Linked DNA regions of Homo sapiens: all the other regions are linked to region 1. Evidence: promoter capture Hi-C in human tissues and cell types (Jung and others, 2019). All regions are on one chromosome and are shown on one strand. The core of a region is centred on a gene start or on the middle of the fragment in contact, and the rest is flanking DNA. Distances in the headings are between cores, read along the strand shown. Region 1 holds the start of SLC25A33 (solute carrier family 25 member 33). Region 2 holds the start of DFFA (DNA fragmentation factor subunit alpha). Region 3 holds the start of ENO1 (enolase 1). Region 4 holds the start of CA6 (carbonic anhydrase 6).

Evidence for each region. The method cuts DNA at HindIII sites, captures the fragments that hold promoters and counts their contacts. A contact is called where the count stands out against the background at its distance.
Region 2: the fragment with the promoter of DFFA here is called in contact with the fragment with the promoter of SLC25A33 in region 1 in 1 of the 25 tissues and cell types used here (pancreas).
Region 3: the fragment with the promoter of ENO1 here is called in contact with the fragment with the promoter of SLC25A33 in region 1 in 1 of the 25 tissues and cell types used here (dorsolateral prefrontal cortex).
Region 4: a contact is called between the fragment with the promoter of CA6 here and the fragment with the promoter of SLC25A33 in region 1, in 1 of the 25 tissues and cell types used here (adrenal gland).

Annotation. Positions count from the first base shown.
Region 1 is chr1:9,536,424-9,541,663 of GRCh38, reverse strand. SLC25A33 (solute carrier family 25 member 33) reads right to left here and starts at 2,199. Exons shown (of 7, transcript NM_032315.3): 1 at 1,917-2,199. The coding sequence starts at 1,972. RefSeq lists enhancers at 1-318, 1,344-1,473, 2,140-2,434 and silencers at 1,544-1,903, 1,924-2,443. The HindIII fragment of the contact is 17,899 bases long and covers 1-5,240 here.
Region 2 is chr1:10,469,331-10,474,570 of GRCh38, reverse strand. It overlaps DFFA (DNA fragmentation factor subunit alpha), which reads left to right and starts at 2,042. Exons shown (of 6, transcript NM_004401.3): 1 at 2,042-2,248; 2 at 5,233-5,240. The coding sequence starts at 2,113. RefSeq lists enhancers at 1-512, 2,474-2,573. The HindIII fragment of the contact is 16,915 bases long and covers 1-5,240 here.
Region 3 is chr1:8,875,842-8,881,081 of GRCh38, reverse strand. ENO1 (enolase 1) reads left to right here and starts at 2,396. Exons shown (of 12, transcript NM_001428.5): 1 at 2,396-2,502. It overlaps ENO1-AS1 (ENO1 antisense RNA 1), which reads right to left and starts at 2,247. Exons shown (of 2, transcript NR_038351.1): 1 at 2,122-2,247; 2 at 1,197-1,517. RefSeq lists silencers at 1,673-1,922, 2,643-2,692, 2,903-3,022 and enhancers at 1,781-2,372, 2,373-2,966, 2,967-3,559. The HindIII fragment of the contact is 5,823 bases long and covers 1-4,946 here.
Region 4 is chr1:8,943,390-8,948,629 of GRCh38, reverse strand. CA6 (carbonic anhydrase 6) reads right to left here and starts at 2,762. Exons shown (of 8, transcript NM_001215.4): 1 at 2,665-2,762. The coding sequence starts at 2,743. The HindIII fragment of the contact is 10,958 bases long and covers 1-5,240 here.

The DNA.
Region 1 (5,240 bases), core at 950-3,449:
AGAAAGACAAATTTATATAGAGTGGCTTAATTTAAGAATGCTTCCCCCTTGTGTTACTCTGAAAGGAAGTCTCTGCCGGGCATGGTGGCTCACGCCTGTAATCCCAGCAATTTGGGAGGCCAAGGTGGGCCATCACTTGAGGTCAGGAGTGCCAGCCTGGCCAACATGGCAAAACTCCGCCTCTTAGCAAAAACACAAAAAAATTAGCTGGGCGTGGCCGGGCGCAGTGGCTCACACTTGTAATCCCAGCACTTTGGGAGGCCGAGGCGGGCGGATCACGAGGTCAGGAGATCGAGACCATCCTGGCTAACACGGTGAAACCCCGTCTCTACTAAAAATACAAAAAGCTGGGCGTAGTGGCGGGTGCCTGTAGTCCCAGCTACTCGGGAGGCTGAGACAGGAGAATGGCGTGAACCCGGGAGGCGGAGCTTGCAGTGAGCTGAGATGGCGCCAGTGCACTCCAGCCTGGGCTACAGAGCGAAACTCCGTCTCAAAAAAAAAAAAAGAAAAAAAAAATTAGCCAGGCTTGGTGGCGGGGCCTGTAATCCCAGCTACTCGGGAGGCTGAGGCAGGAGAATCGCCTGAATCCGGGAGGCGGAAGTTGCAGTGAGCCCAAAGATCGCACCACTGCACTCCAGCCTGGGCGACAGAGGAAGACTCCCTCTCAAAAAAAAAAAGGAAGTCTCAATGGAGACATGGAGGGAAGGGTTGCAAGGGAATGAATGACAGGGAAGAGATGAATGAGAAACTCTTCCAATCTATGAAGACCCACCGAAGTTTTTGGTTAAAGTAACCTGGTGACTGCCCACAATACAAGTACAAAAAAAGCTCAGGGACGCTTTCATCAGTCATCTTCCAAGATAAGTTTCTCAACCATTGTTTGTTGTAAGGAACATATCCAGGTAGGAATCCAGGCTGCAACTACTCAAGCCAAGATGATCATCCCAGAATAAACTATTTTATGCAAAATATCCTACACTCAAAAATTCCTGTGCCAGGCCGATGAGGTCCTCAAATTAATACTCCAAATATCTGTAAGACTCCGAAAGGACCCCAAGCCACCGGCTGTGATAAAGGAAAAAAGAAAATTACTAATACTCAAAAATATTTTACCTTCTATTCTCGGCGGGAGGTGACAAGGGGAGGTGGCGAGGGGTACCATCTCCCTTCCTAACCGCAGAACTCAACCTCCTAAAAATGCATTGTCTCCGCTGGAAAAAAGGTGCCTGACCATAGACCTAATGCAGCTTTCAAAACAAGGAACACCTTACAATTCTGCGGTCTCTGGCGTTGGAAGCGTCTACCAGCCGGCGAGAAGTGTCTCAACACACCTTCCAGACCTCATATGAGTTCGGGTCCCTGGCTTAGCCACCCCGCGTGTGGCCGCAAGCATCACCGTTCACCAGCACCACCCAGGCCTTGCTGACGTCCAACGTCCGCAGACCTTTTTGCCCGTCCGGATGACCTCCCGCGCTGCCCTGAGGAACCTCGGGCACACCCGAGCATCAGCGATCCTACCACGGGCTCTGAGGCGCTGCGCTTCGGGAGAGGCCCCAGGAGAAGGGGGCGGGGGAGGGGGGGCCGCGCCACAGCGTCCAGGCTGGACCGCCGCCGAGCACCACTCACCGGCCACTGACTCTTCAGAATGGGGAAAAGCTGGGGACGCCGCGGGGAGGACGGGCGGCGGGGCACAGCCGCCCTCGGGGCTGCGGTCAGGACGTAGGGGTGAGGAAGGCCCGACCCCCTCCCTCGGCCCTGCCCACCAGTCCCCGACGCCGGGACTTCCTCCTCCCGAGCGCCGGCGCCGTAGCCCGGGGAAGGCCGGTAACCGCCGCGGGAGGCTGGGGCCGCGCCCGGGGCGAAGGCCGAGGGGACCGCAGGCGGTGGGGCGCGCGCGGCTGGGCCCGGGAACTCACCCGCCGGCGAAGAGGTGAAGCAGCGTGTTCTCCTTCTGCTGGCCGCCCGTCGCCATGGCCGCGCCGGCTCCGCGGCCCGTCGCCGCCCGGTGGCGAGAGCGCGTGGCGGCTCGAGGGATGCGCGAGGTCGCCGGGTCTTGTCTCCCCGCTGCCCTCAGGGGGCTGCCGGCAACGCCTCCATGCGCGCGCGGGCTCCAACGCCCGGCTCTGCTCGGCCCGCGCCTTCCGCGGCGTGGCCGCCGGCGCCTCACCGGCCTCTGCGGCGCGAGCCCGGCGGGGAGCTAGAGCCCGGCGCGCGGCCGTCACGTGGCGGGGGCCGGACCGTGACGTCACGGGCGCGCGAGTCTGGGGCGGGGCGTGACGGGGGTGTGGACCCAAATTTCGAGCGCTCATTGGTTAGGACGCGGATGTGGGCGGGGAGGTTGCGCAGTTCTGGGGCGGAGCCAGCCCCGAGCGAATGACTGGGGAGAGGGGCTGGCCTAGGCCGGAGCGTGGAGGCAGTGGAAACTGGCTGTGACTGACTGGTCCTCGCTCCTCAGAGAAGCCTCGCGAGGCCCTAGGCCTTGCCTTATTTTAAAAGTTTACTTTGTGATATTTACGTGTGCAAAAGGTGTACAAATTACGTGTTACATCTCACACCTCTGTACTCACCACCCCGTTTAGGGAAACAAAAACATAATCTAAAAATCTATAATCTAAACAGCCTTAGATAATCAGTGAGGCCCTCACGGTGGCTCACGCCTGCAATCTCAACACTTTGGGAGGCCGAGGCGGGCGGGCGGATCGCCTGAAGCCAGGAGTTACAGACCAACCTGTCCAAGACGGCGAAACCGTGTCTCTACTAGAAATACAAAAGTTAGCCGGACGAGGCGGCGCACCCCTGTCATCCCAGCTACTTGGGTGGCTGAGGCTGGATAATCGCTTGAGCCCGGGAGGCGGGGGCTGCAGTGAGCCAAGATCTTGCCACTGCACTCCAGCCTGGACGACAAAGCGAGACTCTGTCTCAAATAATTAATAATCATTATCATTATGTGGATTTTTGATCTCCCTATAAGTAGTAGTATATGCTGCGTATATTTTGCAGTATGCTTTTTGCTTCTTTTCTGATCATCTCCAGCCCAGACCTAGATATCCAAACTGCTTCTCTCAGCCTATGTCACTGGGTCATTGTCATACTCAACCTGACATCTTCTAATCTCCAGGTCTCCCCCAGATGGAGACTTTCCTGGCCGCCTTTGCAGCGCAGTCTGTCACACGACTATAGAACCAGGGCTTCTGCAGTTAGTTTGTTGATTTATTTAAGTTGTCCTTCCCATACAGGAATGTAAGCTTCAGGAGAGCAGGGACCTTATTTCTTTTGTTCACAGTTGTTCCTGACACAGTACCTGCCACCTAGTAATGCCCAAGGAGCTAATGAATAAAGGTCCCAAATTGAACTTATCATTCTTCCCCTCCCCCAAACCTGCTCTACCTCTATTTCCTGTCCTGGCAGTGACACCACTGACTGCACAGGCACCAGTGCCAGAAGCTTTCCTGTTACCTTGGACTATGTCTCTCTGTCTGTCTCTCTCTCAGCAGACCACCATTCACCTGCAGAACGTACCAACCCTTTCTCTTCCGTCTCTCAGAGCTCCGGAAAGCTGTACCTTGACCAGAACAAGCAGTTAGATGTCCTGTGTGTAAACATAGAGAGCTTAAGTAGGAGGGAATTGTGTGGAAACGTGGGAGCTAGCCAGCCAATCTGTATTTGATTGCTGGGACTCTTTAAATAAAAACAGCTCTTAGGAGCAGTCCTCCAAAATGCAAATACAGTGGTTACTATTAAAGCCATTGCTCCCAGGCCTAGGAGAAGGGGAAGCCATACTAGGGCATGAGATATCTGAGAAAAAGAAGTAAAGAAAACCCAGCACAGTGGCCCACTCCTGTCATCCCAGCACTTTGGGAGGCTGAGAAGAGTGGATGACTTGAGTCTAGTAGCTCAAGACCAGCCTGGATAACGTGGCAAAACCCTGTCTCTACAAAAGAAAAAAAAAAGTAAAAATAAATAATTTTTTATTTTTATTATATGTTTTTTTTAATTTTTATTTATTTATTTTGAGATGGAGTCTTGCTCTGTCACCCAGGCTGGAGTGCAGTGGCACGATCTCGTCTCACTGCAACCTCTGCCTCCCGGGTTCAAGCAATTCTCCTGCCTCAGCCTCCTGAGTAGCTGGGATTACAGGCATGCACCACCACACTGGGCTAATTTTTGTATTTTTAGTAGAGACAGGGTTTCACCATGTTGGTCAGGCTGGTCTCAAACTCCTGACCTCGTGATCCGCCCACCTCAGCCTCCCAGAGTGCTGGGGTTACAGGCGTGAGTCACCGCACCTGGCCTATTATTTTAAGAGGAGGCCTCATTCTGTCACCCAGGCTGGAGTGCAGTGGCACCATCTTGGCTCACTGCATACTCCACCTCCCAGATTCAAGCGATTGTCCTGCCTCAGCCTCCTGAGTAGCTGGGATTACAGACATATGCCACCATGCTTGGCTAATTTTTGTTGGTTTTTTCTTTTTTTTTTTTTTTGACACGGTGTTTCACTCTTGTTGCCCAGGCTGGAGTGCAATGGTGCGTTCTCGGCTCACTGCGACCCCCACCTCTTGGGTTCAAGCGTTTCTCCTGCCTCAGCCTCCCGAGTAGCTGGGATTACAGGCGCCCGCAACCATGCCTGGTTAATTTTTGTATTTTTAGTAGAGACAGGGTTTCACTATGTTGGCCAGGCTGGGCTCGAACTCCTGACCTCAGGTGATCCGCCCGCCTTGGCCTCCCAAAGTGCTGAGATTACAGGTGTGAGCCACCACGCCTGGCTTGAACCTGCTATTTTCCCTGACTAGGATGGCCCCCTTCCTAGACTTCTAGAGCTCCTCTGACACCAGCTCAGGCATTGGCCATGGCCATGTACTGGGTATACAACAGAGATTCCAATAGATAAAAACCTTTAATGAAACATTGGCAATCAAATCCAGCAATATAGAAAAAGGATAATACATCAGGACGAAATGAGAGATGCCCAGGAATTAGAGATTGGTTTAACATTCAAAAAATCAATCCATATAATTCAGCATATTAAGAGAATAACAGGGACACATGTTCCCAGGACCTCCTGGGGCTGTGTCAACAGCAAAAAAAAAAAAAAAAAAAAAAAAAGGAAAAAAAGAAAAAAAAAACAGTGAAAGAGAAAGAGAGAATAATGGAAAAAAACCTGATGACCATGTAAATTGATGCAGAAAAGCATTTGAAAAAACTGAACACCTATTCATGAAAAAAAGCTCTCAGCAAACAAG
Region 2 (5,240 bases), core at 793-3,292, 930 kb before region 1:
CCCGGCTAACATTGTATTTTTAGTAGAGATGGAGTTTCTCCATGTTGGTCAGGCTGCTCTCGAACTCCCGACCTCAGGTGATCTGCCCGCCTCGGCCTCCCAAAGTGTTGGGATTACAGAAGTGAGCCACAGCGCCCGGCCCATATTATTCTTATTGAGTTAATCTCTGCCCATCCCCACAGTGCCATGGGCACATTTAGGGACTTGCCAATGGATGAATGCGAAGAAACTTGGAAATTAATTTTTAGACATCAGTTCAGTTCCATTCATTGAGTGCCTACTATATGCTAGGGACTTTGGTAGGCCTTGAAATAAAAACATTCAAGACTCAATCCCTACTCCCACGCCCAGGCCAAACACACTTACAATTACAGTATTATGGGGATAGGACTCGGATAAGTGTGCAGGTCTATTGGGAGAACATAAAAGGGGGCATTTTGAAGAGAAGAGGCTTCTACAAAACGTCATTATTTTACACTGGTTGAATTGTTAGATTTTTTTAATTGTTAGATTTTAAATTAAATATTGGACGGGAGCAGTGGCTCACACCTGTAATCCCAACACTTTAGGAGGCCAAGGCAGGAGGATCCCTTGAGCCCAGGAGGTTGAGGCTGCAGTGAACTATGATTATGCCACTGCACTCCAGCCTGGGCGACAGAGCGAGACCTTGTCTAAAAATAAGATAAGAAAATAAAAAATGAAATTATATGAAAAAGGATACATACATTAGAGTTAACCGCCAGCTCCTATTATAGTTGTGTTTTGATCAATATAGACTGCTTAAAAGGGATGACTTAATGAATAATTCCTCCTACTAAACGCTGTTTTAAATGTCTAAACTTTTCTTGAGATAATATCCAATTTCCTCTCCCACGTTTTTTTTGTTTGTTTTTGCTTTTGTTTTTGTTTTTGCTTGAGACGAAGTCTTGCTCCTGACGCCCAGGCTGGAGTGCAATGGTGCGATCTGGGCCGACTGCAACCTCCGCCTCCCGGGTTCAAGCGATTCACCTGCCTCAGCCTCCCAAGAGCTGGGACTACAGGCGTGCGCCATCACGCCCGGCTAATTTTTGTATTTTTAGTAGAGATAGGGTTTCACCATGCTGGCCAGGCTGGTCTCAAACTACTGACCTCAGATCATCTGTCCGCCTCGGCCTCCTAAAGTGCTGAGATTACAGGGGTGAGCCACCGCCCCCGGGGCCCTTGCCCACGTTTTTATAAACAAAATATGAGGTGGGAGGATTGCTTGAGCCCAGGAGATCAAAACTGCAGTGAGCCATCATCGCGCCACTGCACTCCAGCCTGGGAGACAGAGCGAAACGCTGTCTCAAAAAAAGAAAAAAGAAACAAGGAAGGAAAGTGTCCCCCGAATGAATAAATATGAGCAGATAATTACTTCTAGTTTACATAAAATGCCCTCTTTTAAGAGAGGAACTTTTTGATCATTTTTATTACTATTCTTTTAATCTTAGATGTTTATTTTTCAGGAGGAAAAAAACAAACTTTTCCATAGTAGCAGTATTAAAACAAAGATGAATATGTTGTCAAGAGGCATCTGAACAATCTCCAACAGTGCCGAGTCGCATTTCCCCTTTCCTCTCCGATGCATTTGAGACTTTAATGCTTACTATATTTATTTAAGCGTTTTGTTCTGAGACCCCAAACTAATTTGCACAGTTGAAGCAGGAAATAGAATGGGTGGAAACATGCGGGTGTCTGTATTAGCATTATGCATCTCATATGCGAATAGGAATGCTCTAAAAATTCAATACAGTATACATGCGTGTGCATCGTCATGCAAAATAAGTCTCTATTGGCCTTATATTTGAACGCGCGAATGCAGCTCCTAAAAGTTAAAAACAACTCCTAGGCTGAATCGCGCGATAGAACGAAAGCGGCTTTAAACCCAGAGACTACAGTTTCCGGCATGCTTCGACGCCACACGTGATTAGCGGCAACTAGAACTACATTTCCCGGCGTGCCCTGGTCTCACGTGTGATTTGCTGCGGAACGAACTACATCTCCCGGCAGGCTGCGGAAGGGGGTCGAGTAGAAGGACCGCCGCTCCGGCCTCCCGCGACTTCTCGAAGGTGGGCAGGTCCCACCTTGTGGAGGATGGAGGTGACCGGGGACGCCGGGGTACCAGAATCTGGCGAGATCCGGACTCTAAAGCCGTGTCTGCTGCGCCGCAACTACAGCCGCGAACAGCACGGCGTGGCCGCCTCCTGCCTCGAAGACCTGAGGAGCAAGGGTTGGCTCGGGACCCCGGGCGAGGGTGTGGGGGAGCCAGGGCCGGGTGAGGACGTCCGGCGGGGGCGAGGCGGGGTCAGGAGAGGCGACTTGGGGATTCTTGTATCTCGGGTGGAGGCTTGGGACAGAAACGGTCCGAGTGGGCATAGCGATTTACAGATTTAAGGCGCTTGAGCGTAATTAATCTCGTGTGAGACTCCACGGTGGTGGGAAGACAGCCAGGAAGCAATGTGCAAATTAAGCCAGACTCGGCTTAGGTCTCTTGCCTGAAATCACTTCGATGTTGGACCAAACGGACCCCACTGGGTTCCTGCCACTCCGCCACACTCAGATGGTACAAGAACCCCCAGCTGAGCCCACGGCGGTGTGGGGAGGGGTTTCCACCGTCCGCTCTGGCAGGAACCTATGCAGGAAAGAGGGAGCTGCTACTGACCATTTCTGGAGGTCCAGACAAGGAACGTGAGTTGTAAGTGACGGAGCCGACGGAAGTTCCGAGCCCGGCCCCATACCTTTACCAGCTGCTTGGCCTTGCACTTAACCAGCTCTCAACCCTCAGTTTTCTCATCAGCAAATTGGGTATAATATTTATAGCCCTGCTTCAAAGGGTTGTTGGTTCTCTCAAATAAGATGATATATTTAAGTGACTTACAAGTCTTATTAGCCAGTAGCAACAAATCGCTTACCCAAAGAAGTTTTACAGGTTACATGTGTGAGCCAGCCCCAGGCATGTAGTCACAGTGTGTGTCAGAGGGCACAGTTGCTTCCTCTCAGTCACCAACAGAAATCATATGGAAATTTTCAGAGACCCATGAACAGCCAAAGCATTATAAATGCTTTGGTAACATGGATTTTGCATATAAGCATTTATGTATTTTTTTTCCTGACATTAGATTACTTTACTTCTAATTCCCCTTCAGTGCCGTGGCTGGATGTGCGTGGCACAGAGGCTGGTGTTCTCTGCAGTCCAGCGCATACATGCCTTGCTGTTCTATTGGGTGGTAGACAACACCGCTGAAGGATATTTGTAGTCTCTTGGCTATTTCTGATCACTCCAGTCCCGTTAGTATTTGAAGCATTGCTATCACTAAATGGAATAGTACAGACCTGTCCTGGAGAAAGCCTCTCCGCCAATGATAATGATATGAAAAGCTACTGATAGAAGCTTCCACTTCTTTTATACTTTCCCATAGGTTAGAAAAGAAGCTGCTAAGGAAGATACTGTAAAGAACAAAAAGCATTTTCTTTTTTTTTTTTTTTTTTTGAGACGGAGTGTCACTCTGTCACCCAGGCTGGAGTGCAGTGGCGCTATCTCGGCTCACTGCAAGCTCCGCCTCCCGGGTTCACTCCATTCTCCTGCTTCAGCCTCCCGAGTAGCTGGGACTACAGGCGCCCACCACCACGCCCATCTAATTTTTTGTATTTTTTAGCAGAGACGGTTTTTCACCATGTTAGCCAGGATGGTCTCGATTGCCTGCTTTGTGATCCACCCGCCTCGGCCTCCCAAAGTGCTGGGATTACAGACGTGAGCCACCGTGCCTGGCCTTTTTGGTGTATTTTTTGACATTTTTACACATAGGAGAATTTAAGAGGACACCTGAGGGCCGGGTCCGGTGGCTCACACCTGTAATCCCAGCACTTTGGGAGGCCGAGGTGGGCGGATCACGAGGTCAGGAGATCGAGACCATCCTGGCTAACACGGTGAAACCCCGTCTCTACTAAAAATACAAAAAAATTAGCCGGGCGTGGTGGTGGGCGCCTGTAATCCCAGCTACTCCGGAGGCTGAAGCAGGAGAATGGCGTGAACCCGGGGGGCGGAGCTTGCAGTGAGCCCAGATAGCGCCTGGGCACTCCAGCCTGGGCGACAGAGTGAGACTCCGTCTCAAAAAAAAAAAAAAAAAAAAGAGGAAAACTGAATAAATGAATGAGAGACTGCTTGTTTGCAAGGAATCAAACTAGACTTTGATTGGTTGTTCACTCCAGTAAAAACTCAAATGCCTACCATACATGAGTGTGGAGTAGCTGGAGTAAACATACTTTCAGGAGCCAGACTTTGTGGGTTTAAATCCCAGCTTTGCCACTTACTGTGTGATCTTAGACAAGTTACTTAACCTCTCTGAGCCTTGGGTTCATCATCTATAAAACAGAACTAATAAAAGTACCTACTTTACAGGATTATTATGAGATTAAATACTGTATATGAAAAGCACTTAGGCCAGGCGCGGTTGCTCATGCCTGTAATCCTAGCACTTTGGGAGGCCGAGGCAGGTAGATCATTAAGTCGGGAGTTCCAGACCAGACTGGCCAAGATGGTGAAACCCCGTCTCTACTAAAAATACAAAAATTAGCCAGGCACGGTGGCCGGTGCCTGTAGTCCCAGCTACTCGGGAGACTAAGGCAGAGAGTTGCTTGAACCCGGGAGGCGGAGGTTGCTGTGAACCAAGATTGTACTACTGCACGCCAGCCTGTCTCAAAAAAAAAAAAAAAGAAAGAAAGAAAAGCACTTAGGGCTGAGCACAGTGGCTCATGCCTCTAATCCCAGCACTTTGGGAGGCCAAGGCGGGTGGATCATGAGGTCAGGAGTTCGAGACCAGCCTGGTCAACATGGTGAAACCACGTCTCTACTAAAAATACAAAAATTAGCCGGACATGGTGGTGCACGCCTATAATCCCAACTACTCGGGAGGCTGAGGCAGGAAAATCACTTGAACCTGGGAGGCAGAGGTTTCAGTGAGCCGAGATCGCGCCAGTGCACTGCAGCCTGGGTAACAGAGTGAGACCCTGCTACAAAAAAAAAGAAAAGAACACTTAGAACAGAATCAGGCACGTGATGAGTGTTCTGGTAGTGCTAGAAGTGATGATTGTGATTCTAGTTATTACCTACCAGGAGTTCTGCTCAGCTCTGGAGCCATACATACTTGAGATGCAGGGATAGATGTAATTTCCTTACGGTTATTTGTCATTTGCCAAATATTTTATTCTTTTCAGCCTGTGAC
Region 3 (5,240 bases), core at 1,147-3,646, 660 kb after region 1:
GATGTGGGTACACAGAGATTTATATACGCTTTATGTAGTCTCTGGTGTACGTGAAATACTGAGTGATGAATACCAAAACCTCATGATCTGTTATGAGGAGGGACCATCCAGCTACATCCCCTTCTGCACTCATCTGGTATCTTACCTCCCCAGAGCTCCTTATCCAACCCTGAAGTTCCCTATCTGGCTGGAGACCCTCTTTCACAAAGATCCCTTTCTCAAGCTGACCAGTGATTTTTACACACGTATCACAGGGAGAATCAGTAATCCAAGCGAGTTACAGGTCGTAGCAGATTCACTCTCCCTTGATCCCGGCCACCTGCAGACACCATGCATGTGTTACCTACAGTGCTTCAAGGTGTGGTATTCTGATAGCTTTGGACAGTTATTCCCCACCTGCCCACCACCAATAAAACTTCTCAACAAGCTTACAGCAAGTGAGAAATAATAACTAAATGCAATGCCGTTGTGCTGACTACAAGCAAATGTGAACCCCACAGCCTGCTAACAAAGCCTAAGGAGCTATGGAAACAGGGAGGGCATTTGGCAGCCTGTGAATTTTGAAAAAGATTTCAGGACATCTCTAGTAATCATTAACATTTTAGCTACAATGTGAGGTCGAAGTGCTGGCTCAGAATGTGGCGCTGCAGCCTCCAAGAATCTTGCAACGGCAGCAGTCCGGGATCATGTTCGGCCTCTGATTTCCTGCTAGATTTACTGGTTCTGGCCACAGCAGAGTATCTTTATCTCTCTAACCATTTTTATGTAAAATAAGATTGTTTGGAGCCCTTTCAGGGCCACGCCTTAGAATTGCTCTGAGAGTACCAAGTGCCTGATTTCTTAGAGTCCTTACCAGTAGGAGATGTTGGCTGTTGATTTAGCTGCTGAGTCATGGGGCTGGGGATAGTGGTTTTCAGTAGCCAAAAACGTTAGTGTGTTGCTGGTGAAATCACAAACTCTGCTTGCAAAATTTTACTCTTTTTTTTTTTCTTTTTGCTGAATTTAATCCTAAAGTTCTTGCTTCTTACTCACTGGAAAGCAAATACTATGGTCTCAATAGGCCTTAATTTTTAACCAACGCCATGGAAACCTGTCTGTAGCTAAGAGGATAAAAATGCTAGGGGTTAAGGAAGAAAAGCAGGTTTTGCAGCTGACCAGAAGAAATAATTAAATTCAAGTACATATTTGAACACCTCTTTACAAGGAAATGAGGAAAATCAGATGTTTTAGTTCTCTTACAGACCAGCAGTAATGTTGAAAAATATAAAAGTAGCCGTAACAGAAAACGAAGTGATCATCTCAGCCCTCCCTTGGAGTGGGGGGATATATTGCGGAGCTGAGTTTTAATGGCTATCAGTTCTTGATCAGAAAAGTGAAATCACTCCAACTCCTTCCGTATTCCACGGAATATGACCCGTCTTGAACTTTGAGAAATTCCCCGGGTCTGTGTGAAATTCCAGTTCCAAATAATTCACATGAATGGTTCACAAGAATCCAGGTAGGTTTGATCTAGTTCCCTAGATGGGAATGAGAGGGATGTAAAATTTGAGAGGCAACATGACATGGACTAGAGAGAGAATGAATTAACACTGGGGAAGCACGTGGGGGCGCGCCGGACACCTAGAAGGCACTCAAAAAGTATGAGGTAGAATTAAAGGAAAGTGAACCTTCCTTTGGCTGTCTCGGCCTGATTCTCACCGCAGCAAGGAGAAAGGGACAGGGTCACCTTGGCGGGTGCCAGGCGGAGCCCGGCCAGACGGGCGCGGCTGGAGGGCAGCGCGCAGGCGCAGGCGGCGCACGTGGCCCCGGACACGCAGCGCTGCGGCGGGGCCAGCGCCCCAACCCCGGAGTGGGGCCGAGGCGCGCAGCCTCTCAACGACTCGACGCCAACGGGGTCTCTCGGATCGCGGCGCGAGGCAGGAGGGGCGGGGCAGGAGGGCCGCGGCAGGCCCGGGCCGCCAAAGTTGTCAGCAAGGTCGAGGGCCGGACGTGGGGCCCCAGAGCGACGCTGAGTGCGTGCGGGACTCGGAGTACGTGACGGAGCCCCGAGCTCTCATGCCCGCCACGCCGCCCCGGGCCATCCCCCGGAGCCCCGGCTCCGCACACCCCAGTTCGGCTCACCGGTCCTATCTGGGGCCAGAGTTTCGCCCGCACCACTACAGGGCCGCTGGGGAGTCGGGGCCCCCCAGATCTGCCCGCCTCAAGTCCGCGGGACGTCACCCCCCTTTCCACGCTACTGCAGCCGTCGCAGTCCCACCCCTTTCCGGGAGGTGAGGGAATGAGTGACGGCTCTCCCGACGAATGGCGAGGCGGAGCTGAGGGGGCGTGCCCCGGAGGCGGGAAGTGGGTGGGGCTCGCCTTAGCTAGGCAGGAAGTCGGCGCGGGCGGCGCGGACAGTATCTGTGGGTACCCGGAGCACGGAGATCTCGCCGGCTTTACGTTCACCTCGGTGTCTGCAGCACCCTCCGCTTCCTCTCCTAGGCGACGAGACCCAGTGGCTAGGTAATGATTGGGGAAGGGCTGAGCAACGGGCAGGCGGCGCAGGGCTTTTCTGGGCTTGTGGGGCTCTTTTCCCTCCGAGGGAGGCGGCGCGCCCGCAGGCCCAGCGTGGCGGGGTCGGGGGCACGTGCAAGCCGCCTCCCTGGGTGGGAACTGGCGCCCCCGCTCACCCCGAGGCCCGGGGCGGGGGCGCAATGCCAGGCGCACGTGCTGGGCCCCCGATTTCTTTGGAGGGGAAAGTGCAGATCAACACGTGATTACCGACTGCGGGGCCGAGTCACTGTCAGGGAAGGTCGGGAGCTGCACACGCGAGCTGCTTAGCACAGCGGGAGTTGGGAGTGGAAGTTGCTTTTCCATCGTAGCCAAGTGTAAGGTTTTTGGGATAGACGCAGACTTAGCGGCGGTGGCCACTCAGGCCAGGCCCTTCCTAAAATGGAGGAGGGCGGCGATAGTGGAGATGGCCACGAGGCTGCGGCCCCCTCCCCCACCGGTAGCCCCCGCCTCTCGCCCGCGCTCGCGGCCCGCGCTTCTGCCTAGTAAGCGGTGACTCATTTAACTCCGAGAAGGCACCTCTTGAGGAACCTACAGCAGAGCCGTTAGATCATTGGCAAGTCCTCCAGGCGACCTCGCCCAAGTTGGGCAAGAGCGGCTCCCCGGCTGGCCACCAAAAATCGGGCCTGATCTGATTTGGTTTTTTTTTTTTTTTGAGTTTTGCTATTGTTGCCCAGGCTGGAGTGCAATTGCGCGATCTCGGATCTCGGTTCACCGCAACCTCGGCCTCCTGGGTTCAAGCGATTCTCCTACCTCAGCCTCCCGAGTAGCTGGGATTACAGGCATGCGCCACCACGCCCGGCTAATTTTGTTTTTTTTTTGTTGTTGTTGTTGTTTTAGTAGAGGCGGTGTTTCACCATGTTGGCCAGGCTGGTCTTGAGCTCCCGACCTCAGGTGATCCGCCCGCCTCGGCCTCCCAAAGTGCTGGGATTACAGGCGTGAGCCACCGCGCTAGGCCAAGAAGGATGTATTTTAAGAAAGCTTCCTGTTCAATGTTCCCCTGCTCTGTGCGCTTCTCTGGGCGGTAGGGTCCATTGCTTCACTTGCCTTTCAGGCCCACCCGGGCCCTGACTGCTCCATTCATTTACCGTGTCCCTAATTCGGGGTTCCATCCAGGCAGCTAAAAAAGCTGTGAATGGTCCGGGCGCGGTGGCTCACGCCTGTAATCCGAGCACTTTGGGATGCCGAGGTGGGCCTCCTCAGGATCACCTGAGGTCGGGAGTTAGAGACCAGCCTGACCAACGTGGTGAAACCCCGTCTCTACTGAAAATACAAAAATCGACCAGGCGCGGTGGCTCACGCCTGTAATCCTAGCACTTTGGGAGGCCGAGGTGGGTGGCTCACGAGGTCAGGAGATCGAGACCATCCTACTCTACTAAACCCCATCTCTACTAAAAATACAAAAAATTAGCCGGGTGTGGTGGTGGGCGCCTGTAGTCCCAGCTACTCTGGAGGCGGAGCCTGCAGTGAGTCGAGATCGTGTCACTGCACTCTAGCCTGGGCGAAAGAGCGCGACTCCGTCTCAAAAAAAAAAAAAAATCACCTGGGCGTAATGGCAGGCGCCTGTAATCCCACCTACTCGGGAGGCTGAGACAGGAGGCTGAGGTTGCAGTGAGCCAAAATGGCGCCATTGCACTCCAGTCTGGGCGACAACAGCGAAACTCCGTCTCAAAAAATAAAAAAAAAATCACACTTTATTTTCACATCCTAAGACGTTTGTCTTTTTTTTTTTTTCTGAGACGGAGTCTCTCTGTCGCCCAGGCTGGAGTGTAGTGGCGCGATCTCGACTCACTGCAAGCTCCACCTCCCGGGTTCACACCATTCTTCTGCCTCAGCCTCCTCTCCTGACCTCGTGATCCACCCTCCTCGGCCTCCCAAAGTGCTGGGATTACAGGCGTGAGCCACCGCGCCCGGCCAAGACTTTCTTTCGTCTTAAGTCACTAAAATGAAAACAAAAGTACTGAGGCACCCTAATAAAATTGCCTTTAAAAGTATGACTGAAATACTCAAAGTATACCACAGTGGTGGCCTGGAGATGGGGCAGGGGGATATTGACTGGAAATGGCCTGAGATAACTTTTTGCAGTGATGGAAATGTTACTCGGGTATATAATTTGCCAAAACGCAAAATTAAATCTAAAAATATGTTTAAACAAATTTGCCTTTTTGGAACCTAGTAAAAAGTAAGTACCTTTTTTTGGCTAATGAATAAAACTCCATTGTTACATAGACAACAAAGCCACAGAAGTGACTTCAGTAAATAATTTTGAAAGTTAAAAACCTGCCACTTGCCACCTCAGGACATTCCAGAGAAGATGTTGGAGGGGAGCCCAGGTAGATAATGGCTTTAAACACTAAGTTCCTCTCACCCACCTCAGTTCTATAAGTTGTTCAGTTAGTTTCTTTGGAGAGCGCCAAGGAAAAAAGTAAGAATGGGTTTTTCTTTGAGGAATTGGTATTTGTTGTTCATTGCTGGAAATTCTTGTATTTTTTTTTTTAAGGTGGTGTTAAAGGAAGCCCCTTCCCTTGAAGTATCCTGGTGTTCAAAGAATCTTTCCTCTATTTACAAATTATAAAACCCCGTTGGGAAGAAATAATTAGATGTCATTATTGGCTGGTCCTGGTGGCTTACCCCTATAATCATCCTAGCATGCTTTGGGAGGCCAAGGCAGGGGAGGATCGCTTGAGCCC
Region 4 (5,240 bases), core at 1,513-4,012, 590 kb after region 1:
GCATGGAGGGATCCTTGGCTTTGCTCTTCCTGTGCTGCTCCTGGGGCCTCTTCCTCATTTCCTCCCAAGGGCCCAGTTGTCCTTCCATGCCCCCAACAGGAACACAGCCCCCACCTCCCCATGCTGCAGGAACCCCCCACCACTATTTTCTTGCTCCAGCCCCTTTTATGGATTCCCGTATGGTAAAGACCATCTAGGTGTCTACACTTATGGATTCAGGGAAACTAAGGAAGCATCAGGTTCCAGGACAACCTAGAATGAGTACTTTTTTAAAATTCATAAGGAGAAAGTTTATCTTTTCAGAGAGGGTTGATAATCGTAGGGGACAGAGTAACATAGGTGAGTGATTATCATGGTGACTTGGCTCCCATACAGCTGTGGAGCTTGGAGTCAGCCATGTGACATGGAGAATCCCACCTCTGTTCCCTGTTCGGGGGTAGCTGTGTGGTGAGTACACAGCTTGTTTTAAGACAGGTGTTTGTGGCTGGGCACGGTGGCTCATGCCTGTAATCCCAACACTTTGGGAGGCCGAGGCGGGTGGATCACCTAAGGTTGGGAGCTCGAGACCCACCCTGACAAACCTGGAGAAACTCCATCTCTACTAAAAATAAAAAACAATCAGCCGGGCATGGTGGCACATGCCGTTAATCCCAGCTACTTGAGAGGCTAAGGCAGGAGAATCACTTGAACCCAGGAGGCAGAGGTTGCGGTGAGCCGAGATCGCGCCACTGCACTCCAGCCTGGGCAACGAGAGTGAAACTCTCAAAAAAAAAAAAAAAGGTGTCTGTACTAGGGCCCTCACCGCTTTTTGGTTTGTAATCAAGGCAATTGGCCTGGAGCACAACGCCTTCTCAGAGCAAGATGCTTTGGCCCAGGGCACTGTCAATACTGGAACATCTCTCAGGTTTCCCTGGAAGGCATTTACAAAAGCTACTCTCAAGTTCTCCTGGAGCCCCTAGTAGTTTCCCAGGAAGCCCACTGTCTCAGAGGCTGGGCAGAGCCTGGGAAGGACAAGGACTTCATTGTCTGAATTCTCTCTTCCTTCACCTCTGAACCACCTGCCTGCACTGCTTGGCCAAGTGAAGCAGAATGCCCCAGGCTTCCGAGGCACTGCCATGTGTAAGATCACTGTCCTCAGGAACAGAGCGGTTGTTCAGAGCTGGCTGGACTTTCTGAACCTCCCAGGATGTCCCTAATTCCGTTGCCCTTGACTTAACAGATCATCCCGTTCACCCTGAAGGAATGCTTCCGGAGCAGCTGAACTGGGGCAGACTCTGCAGGAAGCAGATGTTTGTCTCACTTCCTGCATCAGCCAGCGGCCACCAGCCTCCTCATGGGCCCCAATCCATGGTCCCGTATGGAAAGAAGGGGGATGCGGGAAGAAGCTCTCCTCACTGCCCCTGGAAAGGGCTGTTTAGTGTCCACAAAGTCCACAGACACGGCCTTCTAGCTTTGGCTCACATGTGGACCAGAACCCATGTTGAATGCCAGGATTTTACATTTCACATTTTAAAAGTCTGGTTTGGGGCCTGGCGCGGTGGCTCACGCCTGTAATCCCAGCACTTTGGGAGGCTAAGGTGGGCGGATCACTTGAGGTCAGAAGTTTGAGAACAGCCTGGCCAACGTGGTAAAACCCCATCTCCACTAAAAATACAAAAGTTAGCCAGGCATGGTGATGAGTGCCTGTAATCCCAGCTACTTGGGAGGCTAAGACATGAGAATCGCTTGAAACCAGGAGGCAGAGGTTGCAGTAAGCCGAGATGGCACCACTGAACTCCAGCCTGGGCAACAGAGCAAGACTCTGTCTCAAAAAAAAAAAAAAAACAAAAAAAAAAACACCTCTCATTTTGGCAGCCCACAGATCAAAGGGAACTGGGTCCTTATGTCAAGATGTTCTGGGTAAACTGCCTACCATGAAATTTCCAAGAAAGAAGGTCTCGCAAACCCCACAGCACCTTCCGTGAGGTTACCGAGAGTCTTTTCTAAGAACTTTGTTTTCCACTTACACGGACCAACAAAGCAAATGGTTTTACAAATAGAAGCAGTGAGTGTGCTTTTGAACCAGCCAACACTGTGGATGGAAAAAAATTTAAAGCAAAAAGCCTGTAAGTAAATCAGGAGTTTGTGAAGGGGAAAGCTATTTCCTTCTTTTCCTTATTTGAAGTTTAAGTTCAGCTTATTCTCCATACCTTCTGAGACACTGAAAAGGTAACATCTGAAGCCACAATGAGCAGACCCCCAACATATGGCAAGTGGGCTGCCTGGCCATCCTGTGAAATGCCCTAAAGGAGGACTCTTGGCCGGGCGCAATGGCTCATGCCTGTAATCCCAGCACTTTGGGAGATGGGCAGATCACCTAAGGTCAGGAGTTCGAGACCAGCCTGGACAACATGGTGAAACCCTGTCTCTACTAAAAATACAAAAATTAGCCAGGCATGGTGGCAGGCACCTGTAATCCCAGGTACTCGGGAGGCTAAGGCAGCAGAATCACTTGAACCCGGGAGGCGGAGGTTGCAGTGAGCCAACATCACACTACTGTACTCAAGCCTGGGCAACAGAGCAAGACTTTGTCTAAAAAAAAAAAAAAGAAGAAGAAGAAGGGCACTTGTCCTGTTGTAAGGGTGTGAGGGTAACTGGGGGAGCATGCAGAAGCTAGGGGCTCACCTGAGTAGGTCCAGTCAGACACATGCTGGGCCTGGCCACCCAGCAGGAACAGGGACAGCAGAAGCACCAGGGCCCTCATGGTGCTGCACATCTGTAATGAAGACTGATTCCGGCGAAGCTCTTCTTTTAAAGGCTCAGAAACTGTAAATAACAATTTACAATTGATCTGCCCAGCTGGCTAAACCACCCTTTGCTGCACCCACTAAAACAATAACACCCTCCCCATAACAGCACTTCTGGCTCCGTGCATTGCGCCAGGCAGCCCCAGCACCTGCCTGATCTCCTCCCACGTCAATTTCATATCCGGTCAGTCCATGGGTTTGGTTGTTCAGTGTCTTAGGAACACCTGAAGAGCCACACAGTGCAGCCATTGTGGACAGGTGACCGCGGAAATGGGAAAAGGCCCAAGGCAGGGAGAAGCAGGATGAAAGACTTTCCTGGACGTCGGACTTCCCATGCTCTTTCTCCTGACATTAGAGATCTGGGGACTGCTGATGGGATCACCACTGCCTGCAAACCCTGCCCATCTCAGTCATGGACACAAGCCACCGCTGCAGACATGTGGCTGCCCTCAGCCAGGCATCCAGGGAGGTGGCCTGGCCTCCATGTTTGGACATTTCACGGTCCTCTCCTTAAACCAGTGGTTGATCCTGGGTCCCAGCTCATGAGCCACATTCCAATGTGTGCCTTTATGCCATTCAAGCTGGTGTGGGCGTCTGCATTTCTACATGGATTTGTTCTGACACCTGCAGGGCTCTTGGGCACACCTAAGCCAATCAGCCAATTGCCCTCGCAGGATCCATGGATTACCTAATCCTGTGTATTCACTTGGCTAGACAGTCCCTGAAATTAGCTGAAGGAGAAACTTTTGAGTTTATGCCTGCTGACAGGCCAGCATTTCCCATGCCCTTCCACAAGGTCAAACACAAAGGGTAGCCGGAGCTCCTGCGGGGGGGCTACCATGCTGCCGGACACAAAGGGCCACCCCTGCCTTGTTATGGGGAGCTGAACCCCCTCCTGGCCTAGCTTAACTCATTGTCCACTTGGTCCTGGAATGGCAAACGTCAGCAGGCCTTCACAACAAGGATGTTAGCGGTGAACGTAGGCCTCCCGAATACTTCTAAGACTCCCCACTGTCATTTAATAGGGAACATCAGCTGCTGCAAAGAACTTGCTGGAAACTTCCATTTCTAAAGCTCAAGAGCTGAAAGAATCTCAGAGAGAGAGCAAAGCATGTTCAAGGACAAGGATTCTGAAACTAGACAGGATCTGTGCCACCTGCTAACTGTGTGACCATGGGCAACTCAGCGCTCTGTGCCTCAGCTTTCCTTCCTTTTCTTTTTTCTCTTTCTTTCTTCCTTTCTCTCTTTCTTTTCTTTCTCTCTTTCTCTCTTTCTTTCTTTTTTGAGACAGGGTCTCTCTCTGTCACCAGGCTGGAGTGCAATGATACGATTTCAGCTCACTTCTCTTGGACTCAAGCAATCCTCCTGCCTCAGCTTCCCAAGTAGCTGGGACCACAGTCGCATGCCACTACGCCCTGCTAATTTTTGTACTTTTTGTAGATACAGGTTTTCACCATGTTGCTTAGGCTGGCCTCAAACTCCTGGACTCAAGCGATTCTCCCGCCTCGTGCTCCCAAAGTGCTGGGATTACAGGCGTGAGCCGCCGCACCTGGCCGCCTCCTTTCTTTAAAAGGAGTTAGTGATAGCACCTCCTTTGTGGGGATTCGGCAATAAATGTGCCTGCAGTAGTTGGAGCAGTGCCTGGTGTGTAGCAAATGGCATTAGCATCTATTCAGACCCCTCATTTTATAGGAAAAGGAAGTGATTTATCATTGCCACCCAGCTGGTTAGTGAGGGAACTGGAGGAAAAATGCTTCAATCTCCAGCTTATGGACCATTTCTTTGCAAAAATGAGAAACCTACTCTTCTGTCCTTGCTAAACCAGTGACGCCCACCTGCTGACTCCCAGCCCTGCGGAAAGGGCCACCTTGTAAATCACAAGGCCCCACCTCTGCTGAGGAGACCAAGACCCTTTACAAGCCCAGGCAGGACCCCTGACATCAAACTGGCAGGAAAACACAAACTCAGTCATCTGAATTTTTTCTTGGGAATCTGAATTGGGAGACCCAGAAAGAATCAGGGAGCTGCAGGCAGGCAGAGACTAAAATGTCAGGCTGTCACGGAAGCCTGGGAGGACTGGATGAGCCCAGGCGAGGGGAACTGGAGCAGGAAGGAGCTCAGAGAAAGCCTGGGCCAAGGGGGAGGGGAAGACTGCCCAAAGAGGGGCCCTGGAGAGTCAGAGAGAGGAGTGCTTGCGGGAGAGCACAGTGAAATGCAGAGGGCCCACCACTCCTGGCAGCTCCCAGCCCCACGGGTCTCACTGCCCTGCGGTGAGCATTTGGGGCTTCCCAGGAGAGCTCTGGGGCGTTCCTTGCCTCACACAGCTCCTTAAAATACAGTGCACATACTGCGTCTGTGAAGCTGTGATGCCAGCAGCCCCTCTGCAGAACTGCTGTGCAGCGTATCCACCCATCACATCTGAAGCTTTGCCCTGGTTTTGCCTTTCGCTCAGGC